Linked DNA regions of Homo sapiens: region 2 is linked to region 1. The links are contacts of gene promoters, found by promoter capture Hi-C in human tissues and cell types (Jung and others, 2019). All regions are on one chromosome and are shown on one strand. The core of a region is centred on a gene start or on the middle of the fragment in contact, and the rest is flanking DNA. Distances in the headings are between cores, read along the strand shown. Region 1 holds the start of RSPO3 (R-spondin 3). Region 2 overlaps LOC105377989 (a long non-coding RNA gene).

What was found. Contacts are between HindIII fragments. The study calls those that stand out against the background at their distance.
Region 2: a fragment that was not itself captured here is called in contact with the fragment with the promoter of RSPO3 in region 1 in 1 of the 25 tissues and cell types used here (adrenal gland).

What each region holds. Positions count from the first base shown.
Region 1 is chr6:127,116,388-127,120,436 of GRCh38, forward strand. RSPO3 (R-spondin 3) reads left to right here and starts at 2,284. Exons shown (of 5, transcript NM_032784.5): 1 at 2,284-2,902. The coding sequence starts at 2,806. LOC105377989 (a long non-coding RNA gene) reads right to left here. Exons shown (of 14, transcript XR_002956387.2): 4 at 2,514-4,049. The HindIII fragment of the contact is 6,946 bases long and covers 1-4,049 here.
Region 2 is chr6:126,954,822-126,958,870 of GRCh38, forward strand. All of the region lies in intron 7 of LOC105377989 (a long non-coding RNA gene), which reads right to left. Among named protein-coding and RNA genes, the nearest start is that of RSPO3, 160 kb to the right of the region's middle. The HindIII fragment of the contact is 6,473 bases long and covers 1-4,049 here.

The DNA.
Region 1 (4,049 bases), core at 1,034-3,533:
TTTGGATAATCATTATTGGAATTGTCTTGTTATCTGTAACTTCGCTGGTTCAAAGTGATAAACTCAGTCATTTATAAGTAGACACTTTGCAACAGATAAAGGATGGAAAGTCTGTGTGTGGGGGTGTGCACACACATGTGCATACAATGTACAGAAAAAGTTCTACCACTGAAAGAGGGATGTTGTAAATGGGAGCTCTTAAAAAGAAGGCAAAAATCATAATCCTGTTGAGGTGTCATCTTCCTCATAATATCAAACCTAAAGGAGACTATGCCTACTTTCGAAATTCCAACACGAGCATGCAAAATAATAAATGATATTTAATTAAAGAATTAACATCAAAAGGCCATCTCTCAGATTCTAATTTTTAGCATCTTGAAAATAATGCATATTTCAAGTTCCCTTCCTTTTGCATCCAGGCCACTTTATCGCCTCTATCCTACTTTTGGGATGTATAACAAATATACCACTAAAGGACTCCAGAGACATACAATTCACAGCATTGCAAACTTACAAAATGCTCTAATTCATGTAAATTTACCTAATTTACATAAATTGAAGGCAATCCAGTAATAGGGATTACAAATGGAGGAAGGAGATAGAAGTGCAAGTGTCACTTGCTACTCTGCAAGGCTTTAGCAATTGACTTACACTGAATTATTTGAGCACAAAAATTAGCAAAGCACCTATGAATCAGGGACTCTTTCAAAGTGACCTCCCAGAAGTTTGCTGCTGTGTTAACCTGTAGTGCTAGTGTAGTCCTTCAGATATTCTGTTAAATATAATACATAGGGCAGGCTTATGTTAAAATCACTTGAGGCTTGTGACTTTCGACTAAATACTTCTTCAGTAATTACTGAAAAGTTCATCGGCTGGTGCTACCGGAGAAAAGACGTGGAAAGCTCACCATTTACTAACGACAGCCAGGGTGTGCCCCACTCAGGGGTGCCGGCCCTCTGTTCTCCCATCCCTGGGTGGGCCAGAGCATCTTACTCTCTGCTGCCTTGGGCCTCCACTTGGGCTGGGAAGATAAGAAAGTAGTGGACCTTCCCCTTCCTTCCCCAAGACTGGGAAAATCTTTCCAAATCTTATTCCCAGTCTTCCAGATGCGAGATTAGAATGTACAACAGATCCTCTCAAGAACACTGGGAGACCGAGGGTGGGAGAGAAAACTCCAAGGGGGGCGAGCTGACTATAGAGGGAATTGCCTGAGCGGGAAAGGAATCTTCCAAAGCCACAGAAAAGCCTTGGTTTGGAAGAAAGCCGTAGCACAGCTGCATTTCCAACGGGAAGGTCCTGAGCGCACACACTTCTGGGTCCTCCCCGCTCGGAGCAGGTAAACCTCAGAGTAGCTGACCGGCAGCACCCACAGAGTTTCCTCCCCACCACCCGCCTGGCGACCAACTGCAGCCGAAAAGAAAGAAAGAAAGGAAAGAAAGAAAGAAAGAAGAAGGAAGGAAGGAAGGAAGGAAGGAAGGAAGGAAGGAAGGAAAGAAAGAAAGAAAGACAAAGAAAGAGGAAGGAAGAAAGAAAGAAAAGAAAGAAAGAGAAAGAAAGAAAGAAAGAAAGAAAGAAAGAAAGAAAGAAAGAAAGAAAGAAAGAAAGAAAGAAAGAAAGAAAGAGAGAGAAAAAGAAAAAGGGAGAAAGGCAACAGAGGAGAAGGTCAGGAAAGCCGGGAACAAGTCAGCAGCCAGAAACTCTCCAGCGATCTGCCAAGGGGGAGAGGGTAGTTGCGCGCCGGCGCTGGGGATGGGGTGGGGGCGCTGGGGCACAAGGGCGCAGGGGCGCACGGCCACCGACAGCCGGGTGCGCCTAGCTTGAGGCCGCGGAGAGGAGCCGAACTGGGATGGGTGGGGGGTCTTCGGCCTCAACACTGCCTGCCAGCCCCAGTGCGCCCAAGTCTCCCCGCCAGAGCTGCCCTTCTGGAGGGGCTCTTCGCACGCACTGCTTTCCCCATTCTTCTGGCTGGAATTCTCCGGCCGTCACTGCAGTGTCCAGAGATGCTGCGCTGTAGACCCGGGACCCCTTAGGCGCCTCTTCCCGTCCCTCTGCCAAAGCGCAACGCCTGTACTTTTCCAGCTCCCTCTTTCCCTCTTGAAATTGAAAGTTATTGAGGTCGCTCAGGGTTGTTGCTCCAGCAGTTTCCTTCCCCGCCCCCGAGCTCCCCCCCGCCCCCCACAGCCATCCCCCCTCCTCTCCCCCTCCCTGCCCTCCTCTCCCTCCCCCCTCCCTGCCCTCCTCCTCCTCCTCCCCTATGTGGTGCTCCCGGGAGCCCAGCCCAACACTGGAGCGTCTCCTGCTCGCGCACGCCAGAAGCAGCTCGGGGTCTCTCCGCCGCCCCTTGGCCATGGCCGCTGTGCCGACGGCGCCCGCTCCCCTGCGCTCCAGGGGCCCCCGCCGCTGCAGCCGCAGCCGCCGCAGCTTCTGAGCCCAAGGGGCCGCCGCTGCAGCCGCCGCCGCCGCCGCTCGCCCGCCCGGATCCCGCCTGCGGCAGTTGCCGCACAACATGCTACCTGCGGCCGCCCCGGCGGCTCCTGGAACCCCGGTTCGCGGCGATGCCAGCCACCCCAGCGAAGCCGCCGCAGTTCAGTGCTTGGATAATTTGAAAGTACAATAGTTGGTTTCCCTGTCCACCCGCCCCACTTCGCTTGCCATCACAGCACGCCTATCGGATGTGAGAGGAGAAGTCCCGCTGCTCGGGCACTGTCTATATACGCCTAACACCTACATATATTTTAAAAACATTAAATATAATTAACAATCAAAAGAAAGAGGAGAAAGGAAGGGAAGCATTACTGGGTTACTATGCACTTGCGACTGATTTCTTGGCTTTTTATCATTTTGAACTTTATGGAATACATCGGCAGCCAAAACGCCTCCCGGGGAAGGCGCCAGCGAAGAAGTAAGTGCAGGGTTTTTTACGCGTTTGCTCCCTCCCGCCGCGTTCACCTGTCGGGTCGCTTTGCCTGTCCGGAGCCGGCTCCCAACTGCAGCGGTCCTCCCGCCCTGCGCCTCGCAGAGGAGATGCAGGTTCGGGCTTTGGGGGTATGGACGGCGTCTTTCACCCTTGCCTCTCGGCGCCCCTGCCTTCCGCAGCATCCTAGCCGGTGCGAGGGGCGGGCGGACGCGGCGCTAAGGTGGCTCCCGCCCCATGGTAACTTCAGGTTCGCGGGAAAGTTCGGTCCTGGGTTAGACTCGCACCCGGGATTTGTGCTTTCCTTTTGAGGATCGGACAGGGGCACCCAGCCGAAGGCACTTGGGACTCCCAGACGCAGGATGCCTCTGACCGCTGAGTAAATGACAAGGGAGGCGCGGCCGCGGTACCCGCTCACCTAGCGCAACCGCCTCGCGCGGGGAGACCTCGGCTGGGCCCTTAGGCTGGACTCCGGTAGCCGAACGCCCGCTACCCGGCCAGGAAGCCAGGGAGCGAGCGCCTGCGCGGCCGCATCCCCGACACGCACCAGCGGAGCCAAAGGGCGCGCGAGGCGATGGGGTTCGCGTGTCTGCGCGTTTGCAGAGCTGCCGGACGTCCCCCGCCCGAGGGTTGAAGACAGCAAAACCCCAGCTGTGGGGAGCCGGAGGTGCGGAGTTTCCAGGTTCTCTCTTGTCACATGTGAGCGTCTGTACCATCTCTGGCCCTTTCAAGTGTGTCCCCTGGGACACACACGTACAGAGAGTGGGGTCTCCCTAAAGATTCGCCTCCTCGCTGCCCTTAATGCTGTTATTTGGAGGGTTGGATTGTGATGGCTTCTTAAGACGGTGTCCTAGCTGGAATTAAGCGGACACCACCACGGCAGCCTCAACCTGGGTTGGTCTGTCTGAAAGGTAGAATCTTCCCAAGATGAAGGGACAGATGCGAAGGTGTCACCTCTCCTCGCTCCAGGGTAGCCTGGCGCCCTCGCTGCTCTAGTGTCTGTGTTCCCATGGGGAGTCCTTTCGCAGATCTCAGAGCAGGGGCGACCCTGGCTCTATGGTTGGGGGCGCTGGTGGAGAGAGGGAGGAGGAAACTTCTCCTGGAGCTCGCGAGGGGCAGGAAGCGATGCTGCTGC
Region 2 (4,049 bases), core at 1,100-3,599, 160 kb before region 1:
AGATAGAATTGGTTCACAACAAAGAGCAGAGAAGAGGTGTCGAAAATCAATCATTTTGCCTGTTGCCAAAATAATAAAGTCAACTCTAGGACAAGATTAATTCCTTACACAAAGTTGCCTGCTTTATATAACACTAGATAGCCTCCAATAGTTGGCATTATACACATACTGATAATGGAAATGATATGGAAGAATACCAATAGATCTAGATACTGTAACAAAAAGACAAATCTACAGCTACAAAACTATGGTTTAATATAAAAATAATTGACTTTAAAAGGGCAGTTTTGTCTTTAAAACACATACTATTTTAGAGCATTCACCTCCCTTTACAGAAATTTCATTTGCATCAATGTCTGTTTCTCTCCATGGACCTTTTTAATGGCTTGCATTATGGCTTATTTATTTTCAACCCTTTGATTTCCAATAAATTGTTTGCCACCAATTTGCAACCATAAAATGCACTGAATGAGTATATGAATGAATACCTACATTTGTAAATCCAAGAAGTATTTTCCTCCTTTTTCTGGTAAAAAATATTTGGGCATTTCTGAATCATATTCTGAGTTTCTTATTATTTTAACTAACATGTACAAGAATTGCTACTATTATTTTTGTATGAAAATATTGTAAGTAGTTGATAAAACAAAAGAGAAATGCCTAAAGTTATTTTAAATAAATCAAATATGATAGAAAGCATTTGTGTTACAGAAAAGGGGAAAAAATTAAGACTTTATATTGAACTTACCTCCCCACCCTCAGCACAACCACATGAACCCATGAATTTACTGTAGTATAGTTTTCTACTCTCAAAAAAACATAAGTTAGTCAAGGATAAGAGAACTGACCTTCAGTTTCATGTTTGTGGACTTAATTGCTATAAGGAATCAGAATATATTTTCTGTGGCACAATACTTTCATAGTGAAGCAGCCGCAATACCACTAATGCAGAGCACAAGCTCCAAGCATTCTGGACCTTCCAGGCATTTTTGTGGCTTGGCATTGATGAATGCAGGTGAGATATAGGTTGCAGTTAGGATCAAATTACAACAAACACTGCCTCTTCCAAAAATATGAGTTGCTTAAACAACTTCCCTATTACCTTGGGAGAGGATGCCTGTCCATCAACAGCTGGGACTTTAGAGCAAGTTCTCACAATTGTATCTTTTCAGTGAGCACAAAATCTGAGCCCAGTCAAAATAAAAACAATAATAAATGACCCTTCCCTCACATTTCCACAACAACCTTGTGTGGTGAACAATGTGACTTCCTTCTATCTTTTCTTCTCCTTCTCTATTCTGAATGGTATACTTTTACCTGCAACGAATTGAATTTATGTATAAGATTATTTCTTAATTTCAGAAATGAGTGAAAAAAAAGGAATAAGACCAGTACACACATGTATCTTATAGAAATATTCTCATTACTTTCCAGATCAGCCTAACAATGACATTTACCTCTTATAGAATCCCCTAATACATAGGCCATCATTTATAAGAATGCAATCTGTTCTTTTCTTATATTTTTTCCACTAATTTCTTCCTAGCTTGGTTATATCAAATAACAACATAATATAGCTTAGAAAACACCATGTGTGACATATATGCTATGCTCAATATTTTGTGGTTATTATTATTTTTACTATTTTGAGACAAGATCTGGCTCTGTTGCCCAGGCTGGATTGCCATGGCACAATCACAGGTCACTGCAGCCTCAACCTGGGCTCATGCTATTTTCCTGCCTCAGCCTCCCTAGTAACTGGGACTACAGGCTTACACCACCACACCCTGCTAATTTTTGTATTTTTTGTACAGATGCAGTTTCACCATGTTGCCCAGGCATATCTTGTACTCCTGGGCTCAAGTTATTCACCTGCCTTGGCCTCCCAAAGTGCTGGGATTACAGGCATGAGCCACGGTGCTTAGCCACTTTGTAGTTATTAATATGTCATTAACATAAGATATTCCTTCTTAAGGTTAAAAAATGTATAGCCTCTGATTTTTTCACACTCATATTATTTTAATTTGTTTTCCTGGTATAATAAACATGAGCTATTTCCTATAGTTCTCCATTGCTGTTGACTATATTCATACTATATCTCCAGTTATTCTTTGTGATTGATTGTCTAAGATGAAATTTATTTTTTGAAATACAGTGACTTTTCTGAAGTCGATAGATCTTTACATTCACCACTTCTTATGTGGGTTGATTTCTCAGTATTTTGAGAATATGTCTTGAGAATAAGTACTTATGTGGTTTTTGACACAGCAACTAAGACTTGTTGCATTTCACACAATGAACCAAATATTGTGGGGTCCAACACTTGGATCCATATTGTACTAAACACAGCTCTGATTTATAAAAGAAAGACTTTAAAACATCCAGAAAACAATACTAAAAATTTTAGATTATTCTTACAGAATGAAGTCCTCATACATCATCAATCATTTTCCTTTGTTTCACTTCTCTGTGATGTTTCTTCTTACCACTCTCAACAAACTCCCTGTGGATATTTTGACCTTAAGACAACTACCACCATTCTTATAGCTACACAAAAAGGCATTTATTACAGTCAGATCAATGCAAAACTGATGTAGTTAAGCCATTTTCTGATTATCTCCCTCTCCAATACATCTCTGATGAATGCTTTCCACTAACTCAAACATTCCAACCAATTTGTGTTTGGTTCTTTTGTTTTGTTTTGACAAGGACAAATTGAATTTCTCATTGCCCAGGAACATACTTGCAACCACCATAATTATTTATATGTGCATTGGTAGAAATTTCAGCCCTTCAGAACATTTTTTAGTCATAGAAGACTGCTCATGTTGGAAACAACAGAAAGTTACCACATAGTACAAATTCAGCCTTTGTATGGAATATTTCCATTAGCAATGTTAAAGATGGTGAGAATTTGCTGTTAATCAAATAGGAAATGTCAATAAAATGGGACAGGCTGGGGATTAGACAATGAAACAGGCTTCTAACTTCTACATCATTTATGTGGCCCTATGAAGTCTGACGGAACCATAATGATTCATCGCCTCCTGGTATTAGAACCAAGCACTTGGGTTCTGAAGTTAGGAAAGAGTCTGGGTAGCTCAGACATAGTTTTGACAATGCCAAAACAAGCTTGGAAAGGGAAGCAGTCAGTCTAACCAATGATTTGGCAGCATAAAAACCCAACAAGTATGTTAATTGATGTTTATTTTAATATCGAATGTAGTCAAATCCTTTTTATGTAAAACCAATCCATTTAAGTAGACACCCTCTGAAGAAGAATAATTGAGCAACATGGGTCAAAGTATCAACTGAGCTGTTCTTGAAAAGTAACAAAAAGAGGCTGAAACTTTTTGATGAGGTTTTAAAATGAAAGACAAGGGAGATGTATATGAAAACTATTAATCCCTTTAGATTGCGTATGCCAGCATTAGTCAACATTTGGAGAGTAAAAAAAAAAATCTCACCAAATTTTAGTGCTCAAAGGCTATAAAATATGAATGTGTTAGTTAAATATTTGCAAAAGGCCTTTAAAATATTAAAATATTAACATTTTAATTCAACAAAGAGGGTCCTTAGAGTTATGAAATGTTATGCACTACAATTCCAATCTTTGATTTGGGGAATTTATCTACATTAAAATATACTTTGAACAAACCTGCTTTTTCTCTTATAACTGTTTCTGGTTTTACTTTTGCTGACTGTGCTAACATGTTGCAAGATATATTCTTTCAATTGATAAAATCATGATATGTATAGGCACCTTACTAATTCCTAAGCACATCCATTACACTCAAAACCAAAGAACCACATTATGCTTGATACATGACTAGTTATGGCTTATTCTACTGTGAGTCCTACTAATCAGTGCTTCCTGGTCAAACAAGGTAAAAGTTTCACATCAGAAAATACATAACATAAATATAACATAAAGTCACATATCAGAAAACACAAATCAAGGTTAGTAATACTTTCACTTAACTAGGACAATAATAATGTAATAACATTATAGTAATAACCATATGTCAAGAACCCACTGAATACCTGAC